2 separate regions of the Homo sapiens genome follow, and region 2 is linked to region 1. The links are contacts of gene promoters, found by promoter capture Hi-C in blood cells and fetal thymus (Javierre and others, 2016). All regions are on one chromosome and are shown on one strand. The core of a region is centred on a gene start or on the middle of the fragment in contact, and the rest is flanking DNA. Distances in the headings are between cores, read along the strand shown. Region 1 holds the start of C10orf71-AS1 (C10orf71 antisense RNA 1). Region 2 overlaps ARHGAP22 (Rho GTPase activating protein 22).

Evidence for each region. The method cuts DNA at HindIII sites, captures the fragments that hold promoters and counts their contacts. A CHiCAGO score of 5 or more calls a contact.
Region 2: a contact is called between a fragment that was not itself captured here and the fragment with the promoter of C10orf71-AS1 in region 1, in 1 of 17 cell types (neutrophils). The highest score is 5.2, in neutrophils.

The regions. Positions count from the first base shown.
Region 1 is chr10:49,296,241-49,302,066 of GRCh38, reverse strand. It overlaps C10orf71-AS1 (C10orf71 antisense RNA 1), which reads left to right and starts at 3,174. Exons shown (of 2, transcript NR_108038.1): 1 at 3,174-3,377; 2 at 5,294-5,784. C10orf71 (chromosome 10 open reading frame 71) reads right to left here and starts at 2,897. Exons shown (of 3, transcript NM_001135196.2): 1 at 2,834-2,897. RefSeq lists a silencer at 4,844-5,021. The HindIII fragment of the contact is 569 bases long and covers 2,831-3,399 here.
Region 2 is chr10:48,538,411-48,544,236 of GRCh38, reverse strand. All of the region lies in intron 3 of ARHGAP22 (Rho GTPase activating protein 22), which reads left to right. Among named protein-coding and RNA genes, the nearest start is that of ARHGAP22-IT1, 30 kb to the right of the region's middle. RefSeq lists an enhancer at 498-1,283. The HindIII fragment of the contact is 5,085 bases long and covers 448-5,532 here.

The DNA of each region.
Region 1 (5,826 bases), core at 1,925-4,424:
ATATCCCAGATGAAATCCTTCCCTCCAGCCATCCTTGCAGCTCCTCAGCAGCTCAAGCCCACCTGGGAAGGGGGTTAGTAGTGAAAGAAGGGACTAACTGAGGCAAGGGAAGACAGCCCAGAGTGGGGTGGGCCAAAGGAGCCCCTGGGATTGGCCAAGCAGAGAATGGAGGACGCAAGGAAGGCCTGCCCATCTGCCATGTGTCATGGCCCAGAAGAACGTCCCTTTCCCCTTCATCTAAGACAGGGAGGTCCCTAAGTCTGGAGAGGAAGCTATTCATGGTTGATTGGTTGTTGGGATTTTCTTTCTGTCAGACTTTCCCCAGGCTGTCTGACCTGGGCTTAGAAGGGAATGCACTTTGCACTGAGCTGGCTTCAGTCTTTCTCCTGAGAACCCAGGTCAGCTGAGTTCTGCTCTTGCCTCCCCTTGACTTTAGGAGGCTGTGGATTAATCACACTGTATTCTTCCCACAGGCAGCCCCTTCCAGGGAATGTTCCAGAGTGATACCAATGACTTAAATTGGGGGTGACACATCTGAACATCAGCATGTGCTCTACATGCTCCATGTTTGGGTCTTGATAGGCCTCCACTGATCCCTTGTCCTTCCCGCTCTGTCCCATCCACTAGCTCATGCCATGCAACCCTTGGAAACCAAGTAGAAATGAGGGGGTGTCTGAGATTTTTCCAATTAACTAAATGAAGCATATGATTGAGATAAAGACTATGGACTGGCTGGATTTTGTGAAATGAGGTTTAAACTCTCAAATGGAAATAAAACCAAAATCCACTCCAGCCTCGATGGACCCTGTTGGGGAGCAGCAGCCCTGTGTGCCCCTGTAGCGTGGCCTTCTCTCAAAGCCCTTTGCTTCCCTCCAGTAACCCAGGGCATATGGAGTAAAATCCCAAGAGCCAATGAGGAAGACGGCCCAGTTCTGGTGCCACCAGCAGGCTTGGGTTCTTGAGATTTCTGGCAGAGACTGGAGGAATAGGGCTATTTCAAGACATGAGGCCTCCCCTCTTCAGTAAGGGTCTCCAGGGCTTCCTTAGGGTCAGGAAAAGACAAAGACACTTACTTCTGTCCTGGCAAAAAGAAATCAAGGTGGGAGGATGCAAGGCCATCTCTGGCCTTCCTGTCTACTCTCAACAGCTTTCTCTCCCCAGGTTCCAGGAGACCTAAGCCCCTCTGCTCCAGGACACAGCATTCTACCAGCCCCCTTCTTACCCACCGCACACAGTTGTTCCCTTCCCAGTGAGCTTCTGGTCATCCAAGAGCAGACAAACTTGTTCCCAGAGACCCAGGGGCAGATGTGTGTTGGACTTGGGTCACCCGGGGAAGGCTATTTATAAATCACCCCGATAAGCACAATCTGCCCTGCTCAGCCCAGGCCACATGGACACGCTGTGTGTCTGGTGATTCTACTGCTAAGCTAACCCTCCCAGCACCGTGACAGCAAACTGGACATTTCCTGTATCAGCCAGGCCTAAAAAGTGGGCCCTGGAAGGTGCAGGAGGCTCAGGAGCCAGCCAGCCACTGGTCCTGAAGGGTCTGGCTTACAAACTATTCTAACAGCAAGAACTTTCACTGCTTTTTTTTTTTTTTTTTTTGTATTAAATTGACCCATCTCAAGATGTGTTCTTGTAACACAGTGGTCAGCAAACTTTTTCTGTAAAGGGCCACATTGTAAGCGTTTTCAGTTTTGCAGGCCATATGGTTTCTGCTGATATAGTGTAGAAGCAGCTTTAGACAATATGCAAATGAATGAAGGTGGCTGTGTGCCAATACAACTTTATTTACAAAACCAGATGCTCAGACCACAGACCAGAGTTACCAGCCACTACTGCAAAGGGAACTCAAATGCTGGAAAACAGGACCTCATTTACTACACACATCTGTTTAATCTGCTTCCCAGGTTCCTATACTTAGGGAGCTACCTGAAAGGCCTACACAATGATTTTTCTTAAGGCTATCTAGCTTTCCACACACATTGACCACTGCCGTTCTCAATGTTCAATTCTTCTCCACCAGAAAATAAAAGAGGTAATTTTAGACTCAGTCAAGCATACCCTGTGGGAGTCTGGTGGGGGCCCTCCCAGGGTGTGTAAGAACAGGCAGCCTGTGGCGGGCTTTGTTTTGGGGACACACATGCTCGCAGAGCCCACAGGCCAGAACGTCTCAGTCACCAGTTTTTCTCTTTGTTACAGCTGGTGTGACCCTGCCTGGCCCAGCGCTGGGGGAGCTAAGAAAGCCAGCCTCCCTCAGCCCTGAATGCTGAAAACCTGGGACCATGGGGTCACCCATTTGACAGCGCAGTGGCCTGGGCACATCTGTGCACTCAGCCATGTGGGAGCAGAGATCCCTGACAGATGACACCTAAGGACAAAGTCACACATGTACACGGTTCCGGGTACGTGGTCCCCGAGGCCCATCCAGCACACCAAGAACCTTAGCCCCAACACCAATGGGCTCCCGGCACACACATACCACCCTGCACAGCACCCTGGCACCGAACTACTTCCCCAGCACAGCATCGGCCCAGCGGGAACATCCCTCCCGCCATGAACTTGAGCCTCCCTGCCCACGCTAAGGAGCCAGACAAGTGTCTGGGCTGTACCTTCCGCTCTCTGCGTGTCCAGCTGCTCAGGCCTCCTCGGGAATGGGAGAGAAACCCGGCTCTGCCCAGCAGCCAAGACTTCTTTCCTCTTTATCCAGGCTGCCCAAAGGTGATAGGAGAGTGGATTCAGGACCCAAGCCTCCTCTAGCTCACAAACCTACCCACCTGAGGAAGATCAGTGACCAGAAGCCGGCCAGACACGGGAAGTCCGCGAAGCTTACCTAAATAGAGACCCAGCCGGGGGAAACCAAATGGTGTTCTTGGTGGGGAAGAGGCAAACAGTCCGCACTGCAACACCCGCGTGGTGTCAAGTAACAGTCAGATTAAACAAACAGCCTCAGCTGCTATTTTTACTTCCAAATCAGCCACGAGTAACAGATCACTTGGGGAGTGAGAAATTGCTTGCCGCTTAGCCGGACCCTAACCACGATTCCAACTTCAATCCAGAATGATTGCTAAAGCTATTCCAGCACCTAGAGTCAAATAAAAATATCCCGAGGTGGGAAGGAAAACATTTGTTTAGGGAAACATTAAAAACAGGAGAGTGTGTGCCTTGGAGCCAGAGCCCAGAGCCCTGCTGATGTCCCGGGGCAGAAATAGCCCGTTTCATCATCGGCTCTGGACGACCGCCGCCCGCATTCCTCGAGTAAGGAGCCGTCCTCTGCTGTGCTTTTGGAGCAGAATAATCTGCAGCTAGGGGAAGGCCAGGCTGGGTCTCAGGGTGAGAGTTACAGAAGGATATGAAATAATCGGGGAAGAGGCAAGGTAAGTGTCCACTTGGTAAGCTTGGCTACAGCAAGCCCGGTTGTTTGCAAAGTCCAAGCACCAGTGGACAAGTCCCGTTCTGCCAGGCTCCCCTCTCCACCTCTGGGAAGGGCTGGCCTCCCTTCAACCCTGAGGTGGGCTCATGCCTGCCTTCCCAATGGCTGCTTTCTGTCTCAGGCTGGGGTCACCTGCTCCCCAAACTGCCCACAGATCCCCCAACTTTTTCCACTGGCTTTTCCTTGGCTTGTGCCATGCCAGCTCCCAGAGTGCCTTCCTTACTCTCCCAAGCTGGCCCTAGGATAGTCTGCTTGCTACCAGGATTTAATGCAAGAGTGGGTTTTTTTCCCCCTTTCTCTCCAAGGTTCTTTTTTATGCTTCCCTGACTGTGGCCTGAGAAAGCGGAGATGACTGGCCCCCGCTGGGTGTCCTGCTCTGTGCAGCGCTCAAAGCCTCTGCAAGTTTGCAGTGTGCTGTGTCTTTGGGTCTATTTGTAGACTGTCCCTTCTGCCCCTGTGGGCTCTTCAAGGGCAGCAACCTGTGTCCCAGCCCCAAGCTGGGGCCTGGCACCACCTCCAGCCTTGAACCGGCTGACAGCCAGGGCCACAGGGACCCAGGTCTATGTACTTTTGTCTAAACCAAGTCACAAAGAACAGCTCCTCCTTGCCCTGCAGACTAAGGTGTGAGATTCCAACCAGCAGGAGCATTCAGACCCGCCTCCTCCTGGGAGCCTCAAGACTTGCCTTTTGCCCTGAGAGCTTCAGAACCTCGCTGTGGGGATGATTACTTGCTGCTCCGCACTCAGAGATGCTTTGAGGGAGGCCCAAAGTGAACCCCTCAATTTTACCCACCCACCTCCCTACCTCCCCATTTGCCAAAACAAACGCATGCCAAAAGGTCAGACAAAAGCCATCAACTTGAGATGGGAGCCAACATTTAAAAAGTACACAGGATTTTGAGCCCTGGCTCCATTATTTCCTGGTCAGTTGACATGTCACATACTTACCCTTCCTGAGCCTCAGTTTACCCATCTCTAAAGTGGAGAGAATGCCTGTGCTCTGTGGGATTCAGGGTCAGGGGAGCTCATGTACATGAATATGCTCGTCTATTGCAAAGCTTCCCAAAATGTTAGTCATTTATTTGTTATTTTTTCCCATGATTTTTGCTACACCTCAACCATCTGTATCAACATTTACTTACTATTTTCCTTTAAAGAAAATTTAAATTGACTTGCTTTTTTTCTTGAACAGAAGAACTTTATGGAAAACAACAATACTTAATAGATCATGGATTTGACATATTTGTTAATTTCCCTCCCTCCCAGTACACATTGAAACAAATTTACAGTCAGTTCATATGTCATCTGTTTGACCCAAATCATTTTGTTCCAGATGTTAGAAAATGTTGCATTACTAAACCTCATTTTATGGAGGAGTTTGCTTTGGGGTGTGAGTAACATGAGCTGAAAGCTTCGGCAGGGCCGCTGGTCTTCCTAATTTGCTTTCCTCCCCTCCTCAGCACCTTCCTTCCCCAGCTTACGTTTCATTCTTCACAGGTGGAGAGCATGACCTCATGTCTTGTTTAGGATCCTAGAAACAGCAAGCTTTGCTCTGCAGCAGGAGCGAATGGTGTTTGCTTGAAGTGGCTGATTGAGGAAAGAGCACCGTGGGATGGCTGGGGAATGTTCCGGGGGCCGGGCACTGGCGGGTAGCTTTGTCAATGACATCAGCAGGAGGGGTAGGGAGAGAATAATAAAACACAGTTGACCCAGCAAGAGCCTGTCCTAGGAGCAGGCAGCCCTCAGAGCTTGGCTGGAGGCTCCAACCAGCAAGCCTGAGCATAGCTGACACCTGCAGAATCTAATTTCTCCTGGATGTTCCCCCACCTGCCCTGTGTAATAGACTCTATGTCTGTGTCAGTTACAGCGGGTATCCTGATGCAGACCATCCCCAGCCAGAAACACAGCCGCAGAACTGAGCCCAAGCTCCAGACCAAAAACTGAGCCCAAGCTCAGGGTCTGCATGGCCCAGAGCTGGCATCTGTCCGGGGGACTGGCCCAGGCAAAGTGACCACTGTCATCCAGTCCAGGAGCTGTGAGCTGCATGGAAAGAATGTGAATGAAGACACAACTCTAAATGTGGAACCATGGACGCTATGTGAGCCAGTGTGCTCCCTAGCCGTCCAGAAAAACAAGGCCCACTTGTACATTCTGCAAGAGCATAAATAAAGCTGTCCTCAGGCGGCGTGCTGTGGTGGCCCATCCTTGCAGTGGCTTCACTGGCTGCACCCCTCAGCAAGGCCTCTGGAACACTGTGAGGGCAGCACACCCACCCAACAGCGTGGGTAAAAAACGGTCTAGCTATGGCCTTGCCGCACGTGGTGATCGCTAACTTAATTTTGCAGCAAATTTAATCTGCTCTGTATTGGTATTAATTAGAAATGTTCAAAAGCT
Region 2 (5,826 bases), core at 1,741-4,240, 760 kb after region 1:
AGAAGGGAAACTGCCTACTTGGCAAGACAGCTGTAATCATCATGTGAAGTACGATATGCAGACGGCAGGACAGTTTCTCCCCTGACCCCACCCAGTCCTTTCTCTTTTTTTTTTTTGACGGAGTCTTGTTCTGTCACCCAGGCCGGAGTGCAGTGGCACGATCTTGGCTCACTGCAACCTCCACCTCCCTGGTTCAAGCAATTCCCTGCCTCAGCCTCCCAAGTAGCTGGGATTACAGGTGCACACCACCATGTCCGGCTAATTTCTTTGTATTTTTAGTAGAGACGGGGTTTCACCATGTTGGCCAGACTGGTCTCGAACTCCTGACCTCAGGCAATCGGCCCACCTTGGCCTCTCAAAGTGCTGGGATTACAGACATGAGCCACCACGCCCAGCCTCTCTCTTTTTTTTTCAGTTCTTCTTTTATCTGTCATAGACAAACAAGCTTCCAATGAGATTTTAATTTTTTAGTTGTGTTGCTTTAAAACAAACAAAAAATCTAATAATCATCGCTTTACAGCTGTGCTTCTCAAATTTCCTGGTGCATCAGAATCCCCCAGGCTGCTGGCCCTTCCCTGGCTCCAGAGGCCTGGAGTGAGTCAAGGAATCTGCATTTCTAATGAACTCTGGACAATACTGGTGCTGCTGGTCTGAGAACTACTCACTGACAGGTCAAGAGACAGCAGAAAAAAGAAAAAAAACTTTATACTTAATCCCTTTAATGGCACTTTTTTTCCTTTTTTTAAATACAGGACATGTTTATTTTTGCCTTGAGTCCCCAAAAATTCTCTAGCTGGTCCTGAGCAGAGTGGGTGAGCCACCCCAGAAGCAGGGGCCCTGAGGCTGTGCTCAGGGTGGTGTGAATCTGGGATGCAGAGAGATGTCCCTGGACTGTGTTTGATTCTGGGCACTGTGCTCAGGAGGGCTGTCCCCAAGGCAGTGAGGAGCCTGGAGGCCACCCCGCTTCCCTGCAGCTCTGAGCTTCTCCACTGTGATGGAAGGAGGACTCTGCGGGGCTCAATGGCCACACAAATGGATGTGAAGGGCTGCACATCTCTGTGCGGGCCTAGGGCTAGCCCCTGCACCATGTTTTTTAGTTGATATTTAGCTGGTGTGTCCCCTTGGGCACATGGATACTCAAGGGGTGAGAACAGACCCTCACAGACACCCAGGGGCCCCCAAGTTGCTCCATACATGCCCACCAGCAGCCAGGTCCCTCTCCCACCAGTCACTAGGACCGTGCTGCTCTGCTGAGGGTGTACTGAAAATGGGCACCAATAGGGAGATGACTCCTGGGCTCAGCCTCCCCAGCTCTCCTATGGAGCCTTCCTTTCTACATACAGACACCAACCTGGGCAAGGAAGTCCAGCCAGGCAGCTCCTCTTCCGACAGCCTGCTACCCCACCTGCAGTGGACAGGCCACCCCCAAGGGTGTTCAGCCTCCACTCTGCCATGCACTAGGCACCTGGATTGGGGATGGGCAACAGACCCATCCCCACAAAGATACCCACCCTGTGGCACTGGCACTGCCGACCCTGAGCATACTCCACCCCAAAACACTCTGGGGTGCCTGACCCCAACCCCAGCCCTCCTCATGCCTGTGGTCAGGCCTCCACTGGGCATGAGGGGAAGACAGCAATAGCCACTGGGCAGGGCCAGGAGAGGCGGGGCAGAGGCCTGGGAATCAGGAGGCAGGAGGGAGCCAGGAAAACCCACTCACAGGAGGCGGAGGCAGAGGCAGCAGGAGGCAGGACTGCAGAAGGGCCCCAGCCCTCAGCATACGCTCCACTGGCCCACTCGACTTCACTTAAAAAACACAAATTTAAAGATAGAATGATTAAGAATTTCAAGACACTAACCACAGAGCATTCAATTCTAAATGCAGAGCCCTTCAAGAGGCAAGGGTGTCACTGAGCACATGCCCTAGTTAAAGGCCATGAAACTGGCCCTGACAATGAGTTTCTGAATTTAAATGCAGGAAGTGGCCCTCTGTTCTGACCTGCTGGGCTCCATCCTGTGGGTACAACCTTCGAACATTCCTTGCTGGTCTCTTCCTGCAAATGCACTGGCCCTCAGAGCTCAAGTCCTGAGTGAGTTTGGTGCACATCTTATCATGGTCCTCATCTCATTCATAAACTTGACATCCAGAGAGGGAAAGTGGCTTCTCCAAGGGCTGGGCATGCACAGCTCCCACCACATTCTCGTGCCATGCTCTTCCCTCCAGCACCCGGCCCCTGCCCTACAGCCTTCTCCTGTCCAACCTGCTGATAGCAAGGCTCCAGCATACACTTCACAGGTGGCTCTTCCTGATCCAATACGGCAAAGGGGCCTTTAACTGAACTCCCCCCATGGAGCTCAATAGGTAATGTCACCCTTGGAGGGTGGCCTGCACCTTCATCCTTGCAGATCGAGGCCAGGGTCCCAATTAGGTGATCAAACTTCAGCCACATCTCTTGAATGATGCCAACTGGAAGGTGCCTTTAGTGTCCCACCAATAGGACTGCCTGCCTGGACCAGCTTGGCTTCCTGGGTGCATAACATGGTCTATACTCCAGTGCACTGGCCCAGCCTCTCTCTTTAGTGTGACACTCTGCCTGCCTGCCTGACCCCACAGCCTGTTCTACACAGGGGGACACTTCCATTGCCTTTGGGGGCTCCAGGATGCCGCCTGTCCTGCAGCGGGCTAGCTGCATGGATCTAGACTCCAGGCTGACTCTCAGCAGGGTCATGCTCTTAGCAGGAGGCTCAAGAAGATCAGGCTGGTGCTGGGCACCACGGTTCTGTGACACAGAGACACAGAAGGATGTGCACAGAAGTCCCTCAGATGGTGATAGCGCACCGGGCAGGAAGGGGTGATGCGCAGGAGGAGGTATGCTTGTGCCAGCGCAGAACAAAGATGTAGATAAAATTCTTTATGAGTGATCTCAGCTAGACTAAATCCCTAGATAAATTAGGATGTGGGGAGGAATGTGGCAGGGGATTAGTAGGTGGGGGTTGAATGACCCAGGTCACCTCTGAGAAACCAAACCCAAGTACAGAGCCTCCTCCAACTGTCAGCTCAGGAACCCTCTGAGACATAGGCTGCTCCCCAGAGTAGGTTCTTCCTATGCACGTGTGGTCCATGGGCCAGCTGCATCAGCATCACCTGGGAGCTTGGTGGAAATACAGACCCTGGGGCCCCACCCATGCCACCTCAAACAGAATCTGTGTTCTTGCAGTTTGTCCTGGGTGCTCTGTGTGCATCTTAAAATTGGAGAAGCAGCACTTTCAAGCAAAACAACATCAAGCCTACCCAACCCTGGACTAGGAGATCCTGAGATGTGATCCCCTCCCTCAAGAACTCCTAGTCCGGGGTTGAGTAGCCTTGATGTTGTTTTGCTCCAAAGCGCTGCTTTTAAGGTGCCTGGTTCTTTAAAAGTGCGTGATAAATTAAACCAATGAAGGAGCAATCATCCAAAAGCAGAAAGAATGCTAAAAGTCATGGTTGGGAGAGGCAACAATAACAAGAAATGGAGTCTAGTTCTCAGGCTGCAAACTGAGCTGCAAGCCAGGGCTGACTACCCATGGGCTGATTCTGGCTCACAGACATATTTTGTTTGGCTCATGCAATATTTTCAATGCACAGGATTTTACCCACTAAAAATATATAGATTTCTATAGGGTAAATTTGGGCCTGCTTCCTCCATATAAAGAATTGACAGGAGCTGGCAGGGCATGGTGGCTCACACCTATAATCCCAGGACTTTGGGAGGCCAAGGCGGGAGGATCACTTGAGGTCAGGAGTTCGAGACCAGCCTGACCAACATGGAGAAACCCCGTCTCTACTAAAAATACAAAATTAGCCAGGCACAGTGGCGCATGCCTGTAATCCCAGCTACTCGGGAGGCTGAGGCAGGAGAATGAACCCTGGAGGTGGAGGTTGTGATGAGCCGAGATTGTGCCATTGCACTCCAGCCTGGGCAGCAAGAGCAAAAGCTGCTTTTTCAGTTTATCTTACCTGCCTGATCTCTATGGGGTTAGAGTCTGTGTGTACTAGTGCACATAATAAACTCAAAAGCAAAGATGGCTAGAAAATGATGGTTATTATGTATTGGCTGACTTATTTGACACTCTTAATTATTTGTCCTGTGGGGTCATGGTTAAGGGTGAGGTGCTCAGTCTTACTGTCTGAGTTTCAATCACGGCTCAGCCTCTCCCCAGATCTGAGGTCCAGAGCGAGTCACAGAACCCTGTAAACTTCAGGCTCCTTATTTGAAAAATGGCCGTGACAAAAGTAGTTCCATGTAGGATGTTAAACGTGTTGCTTGGCACATGGTTAGTTATTGGTAAAGGCTATAAATTAGTTTAAATTAAAAAATTTATTATAAGTCAATGTATTTAAATTAATTTACAGCTATTTAACAATAGCTAATTAGCACAGCATTATAATTGCAGTACCAGAGAAAAACAACATGAAGGAATACAAGTATTTATTCCCTACATTGCTAAAATACCAACACTGATTATCAATATTTTCTATGGAAAGGTATTCAGAATGCCTAACATTTTAAAATTCAGCTAAAATATTAGACATTTCAAATAAAAAGTAAATATTAGAAGCATTAAGTGAAAACAAAAATCTGTGAAATATAAATGTTAAAAATGTTGGCCGGGCGTGGTGGCTCACGCCTGTAATCCCAGCACTTTGGGAGGCCGAGGCGGGCGGATCACGAGGTCAGGAGATCGAGACCATCCCGGCTAAAACGGTGAAACCCCGTCTCTACTAAAAATACAAAAAATTAGCCGGGCGTAGTGGCGGGCGCCTGTAGTCCCAGCTACTTGGGAGGCTGAGGCAGGAGAATGGCGTGAACCCGGGAGGCGGAGCTTGCAGTGAGCCGAGATCGCGCCACTGCACTCCAGCCTGGGCGACAGAGCGAGACTCCGTCTCAAAAAAAAAAAAAAAAAATGTTACCCTTCTCATACTAATTGTTAGCAGATGACATGAATAAAATATTATTCAAAAGTAATGAACTAAACCCTACAAGATAAAGAAACTTCTAATAATATTTGGAATGAAAATCTACTATTTGATGTTATCTGGATCATGAGCATATTTTTGTGCCCATTTTTTCCGGCTGCTGAAACCTTTTGTTTACTCTAGGCTGGTCAAGGCAATGGTGAGACGTTCCAAGCTAAATTTCAAACTAATTTCCAATATTATCCTTTGAGTTTTTCATCTTCAAGTAATTCCATTTCTTCTTCCCCACTTTAGAAGATATCTTTTATTTTAACCTCCCTTCTTTTTTGTTGGCAGGAACTACATTTTTTTATTTGATCATGAGCTTTAGTTTTATTTCAGAGAAAGCATTCCTGGTTTGTGGTCATCTTCTCCAGTGTTAATATGGGTAGGTGGAGATGCCAGTGTGTCACCTGGAGCAAATTCCAGGCTGGAAAGTCTCTGAAGCAGAGTGAAGATTTCTATCATGATGGAGGCAGCGTAGTTCCCCTCCTTCTGGGTTGTGGAAGAATAGAAAACTGCTTTCTAAACAAGCTTTCCTTTACTGGATCCAAACGCCTACTGTAGTGCATTCCCAGGTGTAAATGGTTCTAATTTTTAAAAAACATGTCACAAAAATACTAATAGTTCAGCATTTCTCAAAAGCACATTATTCTGGAATACCAGAATCCCAAAAACTGGAATTACAATTACTGAAAAACACCAGGTCTGGAGAGTCTTCTGCTAGTCCGTTGCCTTCGTGGGTTCCAAGAACATAGCTCTCCCTGATGCTTTTCTGTTGACTTGAGATTGAGGGGACAGAGTTTGGGAGGCCAAGGTTAGGAAAGAAG